Regions from separate parts of the Homo sapiens genome. Here regions 1, 2, 4, 5, 6 and 7 are each linked to region 3. Evidence: promoter capture Hi-C in 16 types of primary human blood cells and fetal thymus (Javierre and others, 2016). All regions are on one chromosome and are shown on one strand. Each heading gives the region's core, a stretch centred on a gene start or on the middle of the fragment in contact. The rest is flanking DNA. Distances are from core to core; before and after follow the strand shown.

Region 1 (2,700 bases), core at 134-2,633, 4.2 Mb after region 3:
GTTGATCCCATTATCTGACTGGAAAACTAGACAATCCACCACCCCAGGAGGGGATGGGTGTGCTTAACCCTCCTCTTGGTTATCTCCAGGGGCACTCCAGCCCCACCCTGGCCCTTCTTGGAATTCTTCTCTTCAGGAGGCCCAGGCGACCACTGCCAAACAAAGAACAAAGAGAGAAATTGCCGTGCTTCTGGGAGTCCAGGCAGTCAATGAAGGACAGACAGGATGTTCACCACCTGCAGACCTAGATATGGTGCTAGTGGATCAGCACAGGGGCATGATGACTGGACTTGGTCACTCCTGGCTTGAAGAGCTGGGTCTGCAGTCATCTCTGCAAGAAAGCCTCAATCTTCAGGCCTAGGATGCAATCTAGTTTCATTCTGCCCCTGTACCGCACTCTGATGTGAATAAGTCACCACAGCAGGGCACTGCCTTCAAACAGATGCCATGGGTCCTTCTCAACAAGCATCAGCAGCTCCTGGGCAGCCCTGCAGATCTTGTCCAGGGTAAATTTAACCCTTCAGATGTCACGTTTGCTCTGGAGGCCATACTTGCCTATCAGTTTTAGCTCTTGGTTGAAGGGGGACTTCTCAAAGGGTCTCCCTGTGATCACACAGGTTTTCCGACCCAGCTTGGGACCACTAGTGTGTTGACTCTGCGTGTCCATCTGTGCCTCACCTAAGGGTAGGTCCCGGTTACTGCGAAAGGGGCTAGAAAAATATATTTAAAAAAATAAAATACACCACATGCGGTGGTTCAGCCTGTAATCCCTTTGGGAGGCCAAGGCAGAAAGATTGCTTGAGCCCAGGAGTTCAAGGCTGCAGTAAGCTATGATCATACCACTGCACTCCAGCCTGGGGGACAGAGTGAGGTCCTGTGTCTTAAAAAAAATATAATAAAATAAAATGTCTAAAGTCAAAGTATGTCAAGAAATAAAGATGCTTAGCTAAGTATTGTATTCAAATACATATTCTAGTACTCACTACACAACATGGTGTAACTCAGTATTAATAAAGTTATATGTCATATCATTATATAACATTTACATTATGCTTTATTGTATACATAATTTTCATTTTGGGGGTGCTGAATTTGTGTTTTCTTTGTGAAATTAAAGAATCATTTAATGATGTCATAAAGTGTGTTTGGTTGCAAAATATTTTTGAATATTACTGGTGTTCAATTTGTGAAATACATGATTAATCTCACAGCATAACCATTTGGAAAGCCAAATGATCCACTTCAGTTTGTGTGATAGTTAATACTGAGTGTCAACTTGATTGGGTTGAAGGATACAAAGTATTGATCCTGTGTGTGTCTGTGAGGGTGTTGCCAAAGGAGATTAACATTTGAGTCCCGGGGCTGGGAAAGGCAGACCCATTCTTAATCTGGGTGGGCACCATCTAATCGGCTGCCAGTGGGACTAGAATAAAAAAGCAGAAAGAAAAATGTGAAAAGACGAGACTGGCTACCCTCCCAGCCTACATCTTTCTCCCATGCTGGATCTTTCCTGCCCTCGAACATGGGACTCCACGTTCTTCAGTTTTGGGACTCGGACTGCATCTCCTTGATCCTCAGCCTGCAGATGGCCTATTGTGGGACCTTGTGATCATGTGAGTTAATACTTAATAAATTCCCATATATATATCCTATTAGTTCTGTCTCTCTAGAGAACCCTAATACAGTTTGTATACTTTATAAATGTGGAATTTCATATATCAGTAGTGCTAAATTAAAGTATACCTTTATATATATAATATAATATATATATTATATTACTTCAGTAAATATATTTGTTCAGTAAATATATATGTTCAGTAAATATATATATAATTCAGTAAATATTTATATATATAAATATATATATATAACTTCAGTAAATATATTTGTTCCAGAAAAGTTACATGTAAGCTGACCTTTTAAGGACATAGAACTTCACATATATATTTTCTTAATTTTTTAAAATTTTATTTTACTTTTAACTGACAAATAATTGTCTACTTTCTTATTTTTTGTCTTTAATCAGCAGTGGCTATGCTCCCACTACTTCAAGTCTTTCTGCCCTTTATACTCTCTATCAAGTAACTAATGATGTGAGAATAAATGTTTAAATATCTTAGAGCTCTCCTATTATAGCCTGTGTACACCTACATAAACACATAGGCATTCAATGCATATTTATTGATTTTCAAAAGGATAAAAGAGTTTATTTTATATATGTACCGTGCCAGTAAAGTAAATCATGTTCCAAAAGTGCTAATGGTATATGTCTTAGTCCATTTGTGTTGCTGTAACAAAATAACACAGACTGGGTAATTTATACAAAATAGAAATTTATTCCTCACAGTTCTGAAGGCTGGAAAGTCTGAGATCAAGGCACTGGCATTTGATGTCTGGTGAGGGCCTTCTCACATGGCAGAAGGCAGAAAGGTAAAAAAGGGAATGGATGCTGTGTCCTTGCATGGCAAAAGAGTGGGAGAGAGAAAATCCACTTCCGTAACCCCTTTTATGGCCTTAATCACCTTCGAACAGCCCCACATTTTATATTACCACATTGGCTAATAAATTTCAAATATTAATTCGGGGTGCGATATTCACACCACAACAGCATAAAAGGTCACTGGGATTATTTTATTCTCCTGAAGTCTTGGGACTATTTAGTTTCCCAATAAGTTTGCTCTTTTCCATGTTAAAAACACC
Region 2 (2,700 bases), core at 58-2,557, 4.0 Mb after region 3:
TAACACCATCAATCACATTCTCTTTGGAACACCAAGGTCCAACCCTAATGTGGGAACTTAGGAACCAGTCCATCTCTTTGCCAGTTTGGTGGCCTTGGGGAAAAAGTTGTCTGTTAGCTTTCTCTCTATATCCTTTGCCCTTCAACTTTTCTCCTCCATTATTTACCCTGAGAAACCTGGCAATTTCTCTATAAAAAAGAAGTGGTCATGATGGAAATATTCGATGTGCAAGACTAAAATCTAATAATAGAAAAATTGGGGCATTATGAGTAACTCATAACCTAGGAACTAAACAGGAGTAAATTGAGGACAAAATGACTGAAATACATGAAAACAAATGGCCGTAGTCCATGGATATATTTTTAAGGACTAAAAGAAAATAACGCTTCTAATCCCATCTCTCAGTATTCTTACAACTAATACTCAGTTATTGAGCATGTCTTGCAACATTTAGATGTGTAAGGAAGGAGATACAAGTGGCTCCTGTCACACTCTGGCCAATGTTTAGTGTGTTTTCAATGGCAGTCTTTAGGGACACTGGTCAGCTCCCTCTGGCATCTCTTTTACATTAATGAAAAATAGTAGATGCCATGTTAGATTAGAAACCCCTCTAATTAAGAAATACAGAAGAAAAGAAGGAGCATCCATGACTCTTGAGCAATGAATGCCTCAGATTTTATCTATAACTGGGTAGTCTGAACTATATTACTTAAGTTTACTTAGCAAGTAAAGGATGAAATTTGTTTAATCCATATTTTTGCTTAAAGAGAGGGCAATGAGGACAGTAAAATCCAACCCCTTCAACTTTACCAAGCCACAGAAAAACACCAAACCAGACTAGAAAAAAGTGTAATCCCCCAATGTAAATCATTAAATTTCTAGATTTATCTCCTATATGGAGAGAATTTAAGAATACACATGAGGATAACTGCAAAATAATGCAGCAGCACTTCCAAATCTAATGAAATGTTATTTTAAGTGTTTTATAATATGGTTATATAGTATATAACAAGATCTAATTTGCATATAAAACAAATGTGTTTATTTGCAATATGTTATATAATAATTTTATCCTATTATAGTTTTCACTTTGGCAACAAATATACTTAGACACATTTATTACTATCCAGAGGTCTAAATAATGTTCATTGAAATCTTGGGCATAATAGAATGCCTCAAATAAATAGTAGCAAATGCAGAGCTTTATGACCAAAAAAGAAATAAATTAATAAATTAGATATACCTGAAAAACATATTTAATACACTGGAAAGATACTGTGCTGTGAACACGCAACTTTAGAATTAATAAAACACTGCACATACCCCAAACATCTTTATGTAAAACCAAAGCCTGTGATAACTAGCCCTGAAGACATTCATGCATACCTGTGCATATTATATCTTGCTGTAAGTGAAAATTAGTTACTCATATCATTTAGCACTATCTGAAAGCCTGTTTTTTAGAAAGAAAATAGGCACACTCAAGCAAGCAGATTATAGATAACAACAGAGTTCCTTTTGGTTATTCTTTATCTCCACTATTATAGGTCTTTCTCACTCAGTTCATTCTTGCTGGGTAAGGTACGAAGGGAAGTAAGATAAACAAGTCCTTTTCCAAAGATGTTCACTTGCTCTAAAAGCTATCATGAATTTAATTAAGTGCTACCCACCAATTCTCTGACCACTTTCTTAAAAAAAACCTTAAAAAGCTGCTTAGCTTTTATATAAATGTTTAGAGTGTCCCAGATCTACCTTTAAGAAAGGCCAAGAATGTCTCCCACATTCCCATTATTGGTTTGTCTGTGTTTGAATTCTAAAGACTCTCTAATTTTCAAGGCAGCCTGCCACCACCAAAGAGAAAGAGAGACAGAAGATAATATTAGGAAGAAAAAAAGGCAAACAACCTCAAGAAGAATTGAAAAGAATGAGAAGACAATTGCCTAGATGAGCCTTCCTTTTTCTTTTACTTTGAGATTATTTATCTCATCTTTACTCAGAATCTTTCCTTCCTTGTTATCTAATTTCCATTATATTTACTTTTGGCCATGAGATGATGTCTAGTTAATCTTCCTAGTATATACATCTATGTCAGGTCATTAAATTATATCCCTTGGCCTGCCCTGCCTAACACATTCCTCCACAAACACAATAACCTCAAAGTATTACTTAGATTGGGAAGCTAAGACCCAAAGAGATTGAGCTTTGGCCATTGTCTTAAATGTTTACTTCTTTGTTTGACGAAATATTGGGTTTTTTATATCTTGCACATATTGCCAATTAACCCTAACACAACACCAGTAAACTAGTAAGCTCTATCAAGAGAGACGCTCAAGTTTCTCTGGCGGTCATCCAATGAGTATTTCCTTTTAAGAGAAGTTTCAATGCTGTCTCAGTGTTAAGACAAAAAGAAACAGGAGGAGAAAGATTGGCAACTCAGAAATATTTTCTAAGTATCTCAGATAGCAACAACCTCATTAGTTATTTCTATTTCTGATTCTATTAAATCCTTTTTAAAATTTTAATGAAAAAACACAGTATTTAGGATTTTTGCCTAAAGAATGTCCTATATGAATCCTTTCATTTTATTTTTCTCCTAGAAGTAAAACAATAGTTCAAACTGAGAAAGGAACAGAAATGAGACCCATATATAATGGCTTTGTCTTCTCCTCAACATTCTTCACCTTTATCTGTTGAATTTTT
Region 3 (2,700 bases), core at 21-2,520:
TCAAAGCCTCCATTTCTAACTCTGTAAAATGGTGATAATAATCTAACATACCTCCTGGAATTGTTGAGAGGAATAAATGACAAACTATGTAAAGCACTCGGCACACATAAGACTCAGTTAATGGCAACTATCGTTATTATTTTATCTATCTGAGACAAAAAAATTATCTATTTCATTTAAGAATTCTCAATAGCAAAACAAAATCCTGTCCCAGTGTAGAGCGAGGATTTTACGTGCTAAGGTCAGCTATGCTTCCCACTTCCACAGTTAAGCCTTCCAGCAAGACAACTACTAGCCAAAGGACACCAAGAGTCGCAATCTCCCAGGAAGTGGTCAAGAACCTCGTGAATGAGATCCAGGGATCATCACCCTGGCCCCTTCTTCTTCAAGGCGCAGAAGGCTGCAACGACCTCCAAATGACTAGGTGCGGCAGTGCCCTGCAGCCTCGGTCCCTACTATGAAAAGCTGCAACACATGAGGCTTTTGTTATTTTAAAGTGGGTGTGGGGTTGACAGAGAGAGGGATAAAGACTAAGGCAGAAAATTTTTTAAAAAGCCACCTCTACCCACAGCAGTCCCATAACTCGAGGCTAATCACTTCAGTGGAGCCAGGCACAGCGTGGGGTAGAAGCTCAGCGGTTCCCTTTTAGCTGATCTTCAATTTCTGGCGTCTCGAACCCAAGAAATGAAAAAGGGAAGCCATGGGGGAGCAGGAGGAGAAATCAAGGCGCGAAAGGACCCTCAAAGCTGTACTGTCACTCCACGCCCAGGCTGTCATTCTCTCCAGCACAAGCCCCTCGGTGGAGCATGTGTTTAGGGTCTGCAGAGCACAGGAGACAAAGCAGAAGCCCAGCAGCCGCCTCAACCCTGGCATGATCAGGTTCCGCATCTCCGGTTCTCCTCCGGTTTTGGGCCCTCACCTGCCACGAATGCGGTCGTCACGCGAGCAGTTGTGAGATGGTCAAGCCCATTCAGGTCTAGGTTACCCCCTTTCATCCCGGAGGCAGGGGTGAGGTGTTTGTCAAGAGACTTCAGTTGTAGGCGTGGACGTAGGCTACTTCCTTCAGTAACAGCTATAGGGCCACATAAGGGAACCTCAGGCTACTACACCTCAGGAATCTCCGTCACGCCTCTTCCCCGCCCTCCTCGGGTCTCACGCCGAAACCTCACCGGGCGGAACGATTTCCGGCAAGAGCCAAATGATCAGTCCTAACCTTTCTGACCGTGGTTCCAAGGTTCCCCAAAGGACTGCCCTCTAAAGGACCCGGGTAGTTCCGCTTCCGGCAGCGCGAGATAAATCACGAGAGGAAGCTTAAATCTGTCGTTTGAATTTAGGACCACCTCGGTGAGTGGTCGTTCTGGTGTGCTGTGTCATACCTACTGTTTTTTAAAGTGAGGCGTAACCCGACAGTAATTTCAAAACCATTCGCCTCGACCGGCCTAAGGAAGGGTTTAATTGAGTCTGTGGGGAGATTTTGCGCAAGCGCCTTTGAGATAGGAGGGCCTTGGGCGTTGCGATGTCCCGCGCTAGCTGAGCAGAAAGGGCGAGTGCTGTTTCGGGCCTGGGGAGGTGCCTACTGGGTGTAATTGAGTTTTACCAAACGGTCATTTTCCTGCTGATTCTGAGTGTGGTTGGACCTTGCCCTTAAGATTCCGTTAACGAGTCGCCCAAAGCTTAGGAAATGCTCCCTCACAGCGTTTGAGACTAAGCACTTTTGGCCGGCGTTGAAGAATTCTCCCCATTACTTTGATCAGTCATTTAATCAGAAATTTTGCCCCAAATTTAAATACGTGGCGGGGAGAAACGTGAGGTCAAGAGGGAATCCTGTCACGTAGTTTTAAAAGAAAAATGTCCACTTTATCTCAGTGTAGGTTTTTCTTAAATGGGCATTTCTGAACCAAAGTAGATACTTTTTAAAGTGGAAATGCATTTATCCCATGTGGCTTCATGTGAATGCATATGGCGATGAAGGCATTTTTTTGTTCAATGAATTTGTACTCTGAAGTGAACCAGATTACAGAGAAGTGTATTTAAATTTACAGGTCCTTGACGTTGCATAAAATTGTGCGTGTCCATTTTTTGGAGCTTAAAATAGAATAATTCAAATGTCAGAATTCCGATCCAAGTTAACATGTTGATTGAAAATTGCAGATTTTAAGATGGAACCAGCGGGTATTATAACCTTTTAGGGGCTTAAATTGGTGGCTTTGTTTTTAACCCTTGGTGAAACAGTTAAGTCCTAATCTTGACATAATACCTAACTGCCTTACTTTATTGAACACAAAATTATTAAAGGAATTAAGCAATGAGTTGATTTTATTTGCTTTTATGGAGGGGACAAAGTGTATAAAGCTTAACCAAATGTGACCCTGACATTCCTCTTGCAAAACTACAAGTTGTAATCAATCACTTTCATTTTTTCTTATTCCTACATGTTTAAGTACATTAAGTAATGATTTTAAGAGAAATTCTTGAAAATATGAGCATATCCAAAGAAGTCCCAGGACAGTCTTTCTTTATGTAGTAGAAACCACTTAATCCCCCTTGTAAATGATACCTTTACTTAGCAATCAGAGTATAAGAAGATATTTATATTTGTCTCGAATATTACAGTTTCAAGCCATTTTCTCATATGTATGGGCTTTGAAAAAAAAAAAACAACTTTCATTTACGTTACTTTTGTATATGAATACCAATTAT
Region 4 (2,700 bases), core at 79-2,578, 4.3 Mb after region 3:
TATTAAGGAGATACAGTAATTCTGATACATACCTACATTATTATGTAAAATGTATTCTCTTAAACTGTAGTTCATTTTAGTTTATTATCCTTTTAATCATCCTTTTCTCAGTTTCTAGAAATTGTAGAATGACTGTTAAAATGAACAAATATTCTTTTTTATGTAATTTGGAATAGTAATGCATTCTTTCTGTATCAGAGTCACAAAAGTATAGTCTGAGAAAGGAATAGGTCCCATATTTTTTAGTTTTTGTGACATTTCAGAATCAAGCAACCTTTTTTAATTAATCCTTAGTACTGCTTTTATACACCATTTCTAAATGCTTTAACTGCTTGTATTTGGGAACCGATTTTGTTTTGGCAAGGGTTGAAACGAATTCTTGTTATCTATCAACTAAGTTTTTTTTGCCACATTATTTTTAAGGTCATTAATAAAAGTTGTACTTATCTAACAGATGTGGAAAGATTAAAAGAGAATACAAATCACGATGATAGCAGCAGGGACAGTTATTCCTCTGATAGACACTTAACTCAGTACCATGATCATCATAAAGACCGACATCAGGGAGATTCTTACAAAAAAAGTGATTCCAGGAAAAGACCCTATTCTTCTTTTAGTAATGGTAAAGACCATCGTGATTGGGATCACTACAAGCAAGACAGCAGGTAAACTTGGCAGTCACTTTAGAAATTTTGCTTATGCATGTTTTTCTCCTTATCATGATGTTCCTGTATTTGACCTGTCAGCCAATTCAATCTTCATGCAGTCAAAACAAATCTTGTGAAATAAAGGTGTTGTATATAATTAAGAAAAATGTATATATTTTAAGAACTGAATTTCTCTATAAAATGGATTTTGAATTATAAAATTGAGATCAAAATATGTAGTAAGGTGATGTAGGGAGTTGTATGATTATAAATTGCGTGGGGTTCATTGTTCGTTTTGAAGAATATTGGCTCAAATACTCTTTAAAATATAATAAGTGGGATAAAAGCTTGATATAATAGTGATTCAGGTTTGGTTTAGGAAATTTTGCATTCCATATTTTTAAAAAGTCGGGAAAAATTAATATATGTGAACACATCTCATTGAGGTAAAACTTAACCTCAGCAATCTGGAATATTATTGGAACCAGGAAGGTTTTTTGTTTATTGTTTTTTGAAGCCTTTGAACAGTAAGCAACCTCAGTGTAATAACATCAGAATACTTTTTATTCCTTTATTGATAAAGAAGTATTTTCGGTAGTTAATGATCACTACTAAAAGTAAACTTGAAAACTGAGATTTATAGTATTTATGCTTTTATAGTAAGTAGAAGAAACAAATTAGAAGACATCTTTGTATTTTAGTGTTCATTACAATAATTTCTTTGAGAACCTCTGTCAGCACTATGAACACATCAGTTGTAGAATGGCTGTTATTTGAAGGGGTCAAATAATTAAAAGGAAAAGGCAGATTTATAGTATATATTTCACAGGCTTATGCAATATAGTTACAGTTGTGTGTGTGTCAGTTTGGAAAAGGCACTCATTTTAGAGAATAATTCTCATTAAACTGCCACATTTATTTTTTATCAAGCTGTCACATGTTTGTATGGAGTAAATTTCGTAATGATTCATGTGTCGAGTCTTACTATATAACTAGTCAAACTTGAGGAAGCTTTTAATAGGCATCAGCAACCAGTGAAAAATTTTTCAGCATAGACTGCATTCTAGCATTTTTAAACTTTTTCCTGCTTAGAGGTTGGTAAAAGGCTCTGGTCTCAGGAGTATTTCAGATAGTTGTAATAATCTTAATTTCAGCTTCCAGACAATTAAGATGCAGTCATATAAATGATGTGTAAAATAAAAAGCAGCTAATTATCTAAAATAGCCATGTGAAATTAGATGCTATTTTAGGGGTTTTGTATGGTTCGCTTTAGTTTTATGAATCAAATAGTTTTTCCAAAGAGATATATCCAGTGATTTTTGAGTTAATTAAGTAAGTTTTATAATGCAACACTGAATTTCTATACAATTAAAAACATGTTTTAAGGTATTTTTATGTTTTTTAGTTATCTTTTATTTGGAAACATTTTAATTTGCATGATTTGTCTAAAATTCTCAATTTTTCTTTATTAGATATTACAGTGACAGAGAGAAACACAGAAAACTGGATGATCACAGGAGTAGAGATCACAGGTCAAATTTGGAAGGAAGTTTAAAAGATAGATCTCATTCTGATCATCGTTCTCACTCAGATCATCGGTTACATTCAGACCACCGGTCAAGTTCTGAATATACGCACCATAAATCTTCCAGGGATTATAGGTATCACTCAGACTGGCAAATGGACCACAGAGCTTCCAGCAGTGGCCCTAGGTCACCACTAGATCAGAGATCTCCTTATGGCTCCAGATCTCCATTTGAACATTCAGTTGAACACAAAAGTACACCGGAGCATACCTGGAGTAGTCGGAAAACATAACAAAAACTGATACTTCGTCTTTCTGGACTTTTCTTTTAGCCATATATCATAAACCAACACAGTAATTGCCTTACATGACTTGAAAGATATAAACAGATCTTCTATCAGTAGCAGTATTGTTACTTCTTTCCAGGATGCAAGGTCTATTATCCCAACAGAAGAGAAAATATTTTTATATTTAAGGATTATGCTGCACTGTACTACAAAATTGTAGTACTTTTTTTTGTTTTCTTTT
Region 5 (2,700 bases), core at 154-2,653, 4.1 Mb after region 3:
AGAGTTTCTATTTCCCCACACAACACCATTTGAATTTATCCAGTCTGTAGGTGGAATACAGTGTTTCTACAGTTTTTATTTGAATTGACAATATTTTAAATACAGAGTATTTCATTTTTTAAAGAAAAGGATTTCCAACTTCTCTTGAAAAATCTGAAATGTATCAACTCTGGATCCACTTTCCACAGCTGAATAGTGACTACTTTCCTTAGGCAAGGTATATGCAGTCAATATTGTCCTTCCTCCACACACACACACAATCTCATATTCATCCCTGACACTGAAGCCAAGAGCCAGTTGCTATTCATCATTTTCCAATGCAGCCCCATTTACTAATCTATATTACCTTACTGGCTTCAGATATTTGAATTTTCAGCCAGGCTGAAGATAAATTAATAATAAAAGAGAAAACAAATGAAACAAGAAGTAGAATAGATAGACAGAATATTGAGTGAATATGAAAGAAAGATATGTTAACATAGTTCATGAGTAACAAATTTAAGGCTCTTCTGGTCACCCATCCTCCTGGAATTTATCGGGTTATATCCACAAACTTAATACAACATTGAATAACTTTATGTCTCTGGCACAAACATGCCAGAGTAACATTTTGAGAATCTTGAGGATGACTCTGGTTGTGAATCTAATTTTAGCAATAACCTTGGCCCTGACCTTCTAGAAAGCAAATACCTTCTATATATTCAGGTACAGAAAGCATCACATTCCTTTATTTCCTTATATCAAATTAAATTTGGAGTTATGCCCACACTCACTATGGAATTAAAAACAGCAGATATTAGTTATCATGGGGAGGCAAGAGAGAAGGGTCTCCCTGGGGTGGATGAATGCTGCCCTGATAACTTGGAGAAGGACTCTAGTCTGTGCTTTATCATCTTCTAAACCTGTGATGTTCATAGAAGACCAGCAGCCCATTTCCTTCATGGCAATTATGAGCACTGGAAGCTTTCACCATGATTCTCAAAGCTACAGCATCCATGCACTTTCTGGAAGAGTCCTTCCTCCTACACCCTTGGCTCCACAAGGGGTAATGTGCACCCTCAGTCACCACACCACTGGGAAGCTACCTGGTGGAGATAAGCCACATTTATCTGTTCAACTCCAAAATCCAGTTTTGGTGCTTTCTTCCTCTGAGATAATCCAGTTTACTTTTCTCCTGTCTAACCAGACGCGGAAAGAGAAGTTCTAACTCAGGCCTTTAAAAACAAATTGCTGGCCACTCCTCTCTTGTTTGGGGAAAGGAGATGCTTTACTCTTCCCTTTTCAATTCACAGTGGGGAAAAAAACACCACTTTAGATTTTATTTTCTTAATAACATTTAGTATGCTACTTAAGAGGGAAAGTTCTGCAAATCCTGCTATTTAAGAGTAGATTAGAAAGCCAGGTGTGGTGCCTCATGCCTGTAATCCCAGCACTTTGGGAGGCTGAGGAGGGAGGATCATTTGGGCTAGGAGTGAGCAGCCTGGGCAACATAGCAAGACCTCATCTCTACTAAAAAATAAAAGAAATAGTTTTTAAATAAAGGGTGATTAGATCTACTCTAGATTGAACCATATAAGAGATTTGCTCCTAGATTAACCAGGCCAACCTAGAGAATAATTAAATTGCCATAAATGAACCCAACTATTAAAACGTCTCTGAGACTTTTTTCTACACAATTACTTATAGAAATACATCTGGTCTGGATCTGAGTCCCACCATCATAGGGTATTAGCCATGTACTAATCTCTTCCATGCTGACCTGCCATTTAACCCATTTTCTCCATGAATTTGAAATTATCTCTTTGGAGTACAAAGAGAGTTATATTTATTATCCTCAAGCTTTCAGTTGAAGGGAAGGATGGAGGAGGTGAGGGAGGACAGTTAGATTCAGGTTCAATTAAAATTTGAAAGCAGATATGAAAGTTAGACTAAATCATCATTCATACAGATTTACCTTCTTCCCCTACTGACAGACAGCCAAATAAATATGTATCTGAATACGTCTTCCTTTCTTGTAATAAACTTAGCTACAGGGAAATAATTACCATTGCAAAGAATAGAGATATATGAAGCAGTTTTCCTGCTTATATAAGATCTCAGCAATTAATCACAATCAGAAAATTTGCTTATTGTATTTTTCTCTCAATATTTTGTAACTTGTCTAATAAATCTGAAATGTTTAGCAGAGTGTCGTGCCATGCACCTGTAATCCCACCTATCTGGGGGGCTGAGGAGGAAGGATTGCTTGAGACCAGGAGTTCGAATACAGTTTTGACAACATAGCAAGACCCTGTTTCTAAACACTTAATAATAATACTCTGAAATTTTTTAGACAAAAATAAGGTATTTCCAGTCACTAAAAATATATAAAGTACTACATCTAAATGAGATTTAGTTATAAAACTAGTTGACTTTCCAAAGTCCCCTTCCTGTGACTGCTTCAGAGATGAATGCAGAGAGCAGGAATCCTGATTATTTCATGTGGGAGAAGGGTCAAGCCTCTATAAAAGCTCTGTACCTTGCCCTGTCAAGTGTGTGCTTGCCTCCAGAATTCAAACTTTGGAAATATAATTAAGTAATTAGGTTGGATTTGCACTGATAGAGTTTTTGTTTTGTCTTTGTTTTTCTTTATAGAAACAGGGTCTCATTCTGTCATGCAGACTGGAGTGGAGTGGCATGATCATAGCTCACTGCTGCCTG
Region 6 (2,700 bases), core at 7-2,506, 4.3 Mb after region 3:
TCTTCAGAGGAAAAACTTCATCTCTATAAGGTGCTTTATTGCTCCTCTGTTGTAAAATTTGACAAGCTCGAGATTTATAAGCCTAACAATTCACTTTTTATTGCTGCATAAGTGTTCAGCCGCTAGAGGAAAATGCTAATTTTCACAAGTAAACCGCAAGGTGGTTCCTATTTTCAAGACATAGGTCAGTTGACACACTCGCGGGTAAATTCGTACTGTTCACAAGATCAGGAATTGGCTTGGAAAGCAAGAGCGTAGTGAATAGTCGCTTATACCGCAGCCACTCCTCAAGCCCGTGAGCTGCAAGTTACAAACGACTTTATATTGTACAAAGAAAAATCGGGGAGGGAGCTAGAACACAAACAAAAAAATCGGTGACTTATAAAAGTTTTATGTTTTAATCAGAAAAAAAATCATGAAGTGGCTGATGACTTGTGTAATTCACACATCCACCCTGTTTCTTGCCACTGGTACTCTTTCTCCCTTTCTCTTTGTTTTCAGAAAGGAAGGAGGAGACCTGAACAGTACATCCGGAGAATCCAGCAAAGCATACTACGGCATGAACGTGCAAGTGGACAGAATTAAAACACATGCCAGAAACACTAATGGATTCTAAACAAGATGCAGTTTCATTTCCTGAGCCTATACGTGATGTTTTTAACTGTTCTCCAGTTAATATGTCTCCATTTCCAGAAATCTAACAGGAGAATCTCTGACTGCTTAACAGATCACCTAAGCTTGCGATTTGTGCAATCCTTTCTAGAGTAAGGGCTCCCCGGCTGCTCCCCGGCCACTGTGTACCCAAAGCAGCGGCTGAAATAGCCCGGAGTCCAACAGCTCAGCGTCAAGCAGCTCGTGGTTTGTACTTACATCATTTTTTTTTTCAGAGCAAGAGTGAAAGTTTATTAAAAAGCGTTAGAACAGTAAGGAAAGGAAAGGAGAGAAAATAAGGAAAGTACAACTTGGAAGAGGGCCAAGCGGGCGACTTGAGAAATCAAGTGCCTGTACTTACATCATTCTTAACCCTTTCGCTCCTGGAGGGGGCTCAGCGGGATCAGGGGGCCCCTGAACTTCGGAACACGCAGGACCTGGGTGTGAGAGAAGAGTCCCAAAGCTTGGCGTGAGCAATGCACTCGCGGAGGGAGAGAGCCCGGGGCTTGCGGGGGGCTCATCACCCGCTCGTAGACAACGGGCCCCCGCAATCCCTGCGGGCTCCGCCGCTGCTCTCACCGCTCAAAACGGCAGGTGCAAAAAGCATTTGGGAGCCGCTTGCCAGCGCGCGGAGGTAATGCGCTTCCTGTCCATTTATCTCAGGAAACCAGTGCAGCCTTCCCTTCGAAACAAAATTAACCTCTCATTAGCCAGCCACTCGCTCCCAAGAAGGCCTTAAAAGCTTTACCAGCTCGCTAATGTATTTAGGCTTTTCTTCCAGGCAAACGCAGCCGCCGGTCTTGACTGCCATCGCCCAAGGGGTTCCTCTGGGCTCTCCCGCGAGCCAACAGCCGACCTCTCTCCAGCCTAGTCTGGGAAACTCCAGCCAACCCAGGATCCCATTTTGTAGTCCCGGGCAGACCCGAAACCCCTGAAAGAACTCCACTCCAGAAGACGCCAGAACAAGTTCCCACGAATTTCATGGGCGCCCTTCACATGAAAACCTCAGCTCCCCTATCCTCAAGGAACGGGGAAGGGCGCCGGGGAGGGACTTCGGTGGCCAGCTGTCCCTGGGTCGTGGGCGCTGTTTGCTCTGCGGAGCGCCAGCCCTGCACACAGCGGGTGCGGGAAGCGTTGATGGGAGGCTGGAGGGCGGGGTGAGCGTAAACTAGGATCTAGCCGGTTCCAGGCGTGGAGAATCAAATGTGGTCCTAGATCTGTAAGTTGCGAAAAGGGGCTTTTGGGAGCGTCAGAGCTTTCTCACTCCGGTCCCCCGCCGCCTTGAGGCTGGCAGATTTATACCCCACAGGTGGATGGAGACCTAAACAAAACAGTCCCGGCCGCTGCCTGCCGCTCGCCCCCCACGTCCCCCGGGCCCACCGCAAACTTCAACAAAATAAACAACTCACCACAGGCATTCCCTTGTCTGCAGCGCGACGCTTGCCAGCTGGGAAAATAAGCCGCAAGCCACGCGGCCGAGGCGCGGAGGGAAGGCAGCGCGGCGCCCGCCCCTCTCCCCCAGGTGGGGGGCAGCGCGACTCGGGGCGGGAGGGAGGCTCCGCCTCGGGGGCCGCTCTCCCAGTTCTCCGACTCCAGAATGAGCTCTGGGAGAGGAGCTGCGCCCTTCCAGCTAGCCCGATTTCTCCGCCATCTAGGGGAGAGGGCGGGGAGCCAAATCCCTCAGCCCCCCGCACCCCAGCAGCTTCCTCCAGGCAGCTTTCTCCCCAGTCAGCCTCAAATAGAGGTGAACAGAGACCCTCCTCTCCCCCCGGCAACCCCTATATCGCCACACTGCCCCCTGCCGGCGCTATCCGGCTCATTCCGGCACTGCGGACGGCTGGGGGCGTGGGGGCGTAGGGGCGCCGCAGACCCCCGCGTCCAGGTCCTGGATCAGTTCTCTCTTCGCCTTCCCCCCACCACACTCAATCTTGCACAAAGACGCCTTTCACGCCGCCAGCGCCACCCTCCGCGCCGCCCTCCGGGCCGGCGGCGCTGCCTTCGCCCACCCGCGGCACCAGCCGATTCCTGGTGGGCGATTGTGCCACTCGT
Region 7 (2,700 bases), core at 1-2,500, 4.2 Mb after region 3:
AGTTCAAGGTAGATTTAAACAAAATTTTCCTTGTAATTACATAAATTGAGAGGAATTGAGTTATGTCATTTAGTGGTTTGTTAATCTTTCTTTAAGCATAATCAGGAAGATTGCTGTGTTATGTAAAAACTACTCTCTCTTGTTCAGACAAACCAGTAGCAAACTGATTTGAAAGAGACCAAACCCATTTATGAAGTTACATTTAGTTGGGTGGAAAGAGCTGTTGTTTCCTAATTAGCAACTAGAATAGTGTTTGGCAAATAGCATGTCCTTAAATACTTAGGTAAATAAATGAATCAGTGTGATCTCTTACTTAGATTTCCATGACTGAAAGCTTTCAGCTGATATTTTTTTGAAGCAGTTTTTGACATTAACTTATCACAAATAAGAAAACTCAAGTAAATCAGTCAAAGTAAGCAATAAGCTACTATATATTGATACTTAATATCCCTGGTTTGTTGAGGGTCAATGAGTTGAAAGGAGTCCTAAAACAACGTAAGTCAACTGACCTCATGGAGTAAGTTAAGTGCCATTTGTTTGAAGAAACAGGTTTCTCTACATCTTAGCTGTTTTCTCTGAACTGTGGTTTTTAAAGATCAATTCATTTCATGTGTTCATTTGACAAATATTTATGGAACACCTACAGTGTACCCCACACAGTGAATAAAAAACTTTTATAATTTTAATGAATCATTCTGACTACTTTGTGGTTGATTGACTGTAGTGAGGAAAGAGCTATAGCAGGGGGAGATAAGACAGAATGTTGAGTAATCCTGGTTAAGAGGTGAAGGTTTCTGGAATCACAGGCGTGAGCCACTTCGCCCGGCTGTGATAGTTAGCCTTAATGGGTGCTTTCTGTATACCAGACCTTGCATAGTACCTTAAATGTGCTATCTTATGTAATCCTCACAGAAATTAGTGTGCTCTCAAAGAGCTCTATGTCTCTGCCAGTAGCTCTTTAGATAGTGTTTTTGTGACCATAAAAATGATATTAGATTGTTCTACAATACTTGATAGGTGGACTGGTCTGAGAATTTCTGCAGATTATTTAGCATGTTAATAGTATAAATTACTTTTTTGTTGTTCTGTTAACTGCTCTTAGTTCTGTGATGCTACTAATTTTGTTGAGCAGTAGGGCAAAATAAAATCATTCCTAGAGGATTATTAGATGTCATTTGGTTTGATCTGCTTTGCCCTAATGAAGAAATGAATCTAGGTTGTTTAGAAGTTATATTTGGTTTAGTCCACAGCCATGTTCATTATCCTAAGGAGCATGCCAGTTCTTCCCCTTAAAAAAAACTTTTAGGGATCAATTTTTCTGTAACAGTTACTCTTAAAATTCTGAAATTTATCAGGTTGCCAACTTCTCAAATATGGATGAGGATGACATTGAGTTGGAACCTGAAAGAAATTCAAAGAATTGGGAGGAAATTATTCCAGAAGATCAAAGAAGACGATTAGAAGAAGAAGAAAGACAAAAGGAACTTGAAGAAATTTATATGCTCCCAAGAATGAGAAATTGTGCAAAACAGGTGATTTTGCAATTTTAAAGATATTTCTATAAAGTAAGAGTATTCAACCTGGGCTGATTTTGTTTGTTTCTACGAGGTATCAGTCCATAGTTTTCTTTTCTTGTAATGGCCTTGATTTGATAATGTTTGCCTCATGAAATGAGTTGAGAAGTGTTTCTTCCTCTTTTATTCATCTTTTCAAAGAACCTGCTCCTGGTTTCATTGATTTTTGTGTGTGTGTGTGTTTTTAATTTCATGAGTTTCCACAATTTATTATTTCTTCCTTTCTGCTTTTGATTTAATTTGCTGTTTTCTTTCTTTTCTTTTCTTTTTTCTTTGGTGACAGCATCTTGCTCTATTGCCAAGGCTGGAGTGCAGTGGCACAATTCTGGCTCACTGCAACCTTAACCTCCCGGCCTCAGATGATCCTCCCACTTCAGCCTCCCAAATAGCTGGGACTACAGGTGTGTCCCACCACACCCAGCTGATTTTTGTATTCTTTTTGTAGAGATGGAGTTTTACCATGTTGTCCAGGCTGGTCTGGAACTTCTGGGCTTAAGTGATCCATCTGCCTTGGCCTACCAAAATGTTGGGACTATAGCACGAGCCACTGCACCTGGCCTCTTTTATTCAGTTTCTTAAGGTGCAAGCTTAGATATAGAAATGTAATCTCTCTTTTCTAATATCGGCATTTAATGCTACAAATTTTTCTTTAAGCGTTACTTTTTCTGAATCTTCCAAATCTATTTTTATATTTTCCTTAATTTAAAAACATTTTAAAATTTCCCATATGACTTATCTTTGACCCACAGGTTTTTTTAGAAGTATGTTTTAAAATGTTCAGATATTTAGGAAATTTTTCAACTATGTTTGTTAATCATTGGTAGTTTAATTCTGTCATGTTCAGAAAGCATATTTTATGTAATTTTAATTTTTAAAAATTTGTTGGTGTTTATTCAGTGGCCTAAGTAAACAAATACCAAAATTTTGAATAACTGTAATAGTGCCATGCCAAGCTATATTGCCAAAAAGGAAAAAAATTCTAAGACTAATTTCTTTTTCTAGTATCCTTTGGTTTTTAGGATATAAGATTTTTTGTCTTGATTGCTGAGTTTTTTCGTGCTTCCTTAAATTTTAAGCCTGGGGCAAATGAGGGGCTTGCCCCACTCTAGTCCCTGCCCTGCTACCA

The links. The method cuts DNA at HindIII sites, captures the fragments that hold promoters and counts their contacts. A CHiCAGO score of 5 or more calls a contact.
Region 1: a contact is called between a fragment that was not itself captured here and the fragment with the promoter of GIN1 in region 3, in 1 of 17 cell types (total CD4 T cells). The highest score is 6.7, in total CD4 T cells.
Region 2: a contact is called between a fragment that was not itself captured here and the fragment with the promoter of GIN1 in region 3, in 1 of 17 cell types (naive CD4 T cells). The highest score is 5.1, in naive CD4 T cells.
Region 4: a fragment that was not itself captured here is called in contact with the fragment with the promoter of GIN1 in region 3 in 1 of 17 cell types (total CD4 T cells); the score reaches 6.7 in total CD4 T cells.
Region 5: a contact is called between a fragment that was not itself captured here and the fragment with the promoter of GIN1 in region 3, in 1 of 17 cell types (non-activated CD4 T cells). The highest score is 5.7, in non-activated CD4 T cells.
Region 6: a contact is called between a fragment that was not itself captured here and the fragment with the promoter of GIN1 in region 3, in 2 of 17 cell types (non-activated CD4 T cells and total B cells). The highest score is 8.3, in non-activated CD4 T cells.
Region 7: a contact is called between a fragment that was not itself captured here and the fragment with the promoter of GIN1 in region 3, in 1 of 17 cell types (neutrophils). The highest score is 7.0, in neutrophils.

Annotation. Positions count from the first base shown.
Region 1 is chr5:98,952,336-98,955,035 of GRCh38, reverse strand. All of the region lies in intron 1 of CHD1-DT (CHD1 divergent transcript), which reads right to left. It also overlaps the pseudogene RPS9P3. Among named protein-coding and RNA genes, the nearest start is that of CHD1, 25 kb to the right of the region's middle. The HindIII fragment of the contact is 7,031 bases long and covers 1-2,700 here.
Region 2 is chr5:99,105,032-99,107,731 of GRCh38, reverse strand. No RefSeq gene overlaps it. Among named protein-coding and RNA genes, the nearest start is that of CHD1, 180 kb to the right of the region's middle. The HindIII fragment of the contact is 4,510 bases long and covers 1-2,700 here.
Region 3 is chr5:103,118,708-103,121,407 of GRCh38, reverse strand. It overlaps GIN1 (gypsy retrotransposon integrase 1), which reads left to right and starts at 1,270. Exons shown (of 8, transcript NM_017676.2): 1 at 1,270-1,344. It overlaps PPIP5K2 (diphosphoinositol pentakisphosphate kinase 2), which reads right to left and starts at 1,107. Exons shown (of 31, transcript NM_001276277.3): 1 at 920-1,107. RefSeq lists enhancers at 707-766, 817-1,006, 1,037-1,296, 1,132-1,632, 1,633-2,134. The HindIII fragment of the contact is 9,897 bases long and covers 1-1,312 here.
Region 4 is chr5:98,856,145-98,858,844 of GRCh38, reverse strand. CHD1 (chromodomain helicase DNA binding protein 1) reads left to right here. Exons shown (of 36, transcript NM_001270.4): 35 at 455-665; 36 at 2,120-2,700. The coding sequence ends at 2,465. Among named protein-coding and RNA genes, the nearest start is that of CHD1-DT, 71 kb to the left of the region's middle. The HindIII fragment of the contact is 664 bases long and covers 997-1,660 here.
Region 5 is chr5:99,020,674-99,023,373 of GRCh38, reverse strand. No RefSeq gene overlaps it. Among named protein-coding and RNA genes, the nearest start is that of CHD1, 93 kb to the right of the region's middle. The HindIII fragment of the contact is 876 bases long and covers 966-1,841 here.
Region 6 is chr5:98,768,986-98,771,685 of GRCh38, reverse strand. It overlaps RGMB-AS1 (RGMB antisense RNA 1), which reads left to right. Exons shown (of 2, transcript NR_033932.1): 2 at 502-2,068. It also overlaps a transcript of RGMB not described here. Among named protein-coding and RNA genes, the nearest start is that of RGMB-AS1, 2.7 kb to the left of the region's middle. RefSeq lists an enhancer at 825-1,325. The HindIII fragment of the contact is 279 bases long and covers 1,117-1,395 here.
Region 7 is chr5:98,878,384-98,881,083 of GRCh38, reverse strand. CHD1 (chromodomain helicase DNA binding protein 1) reads left to right here. Exons shown (of 36, transcript NM_001270.4): 22 at 1-8; 23 at 1,356-1,532. Among named protein-coding and RNA genes, the nearest start is that of CHD1-DT, 49 kb to the left of the region's middle. The HindIII fragment of the contact is 1,827 bases long and covers 337-2,163 here.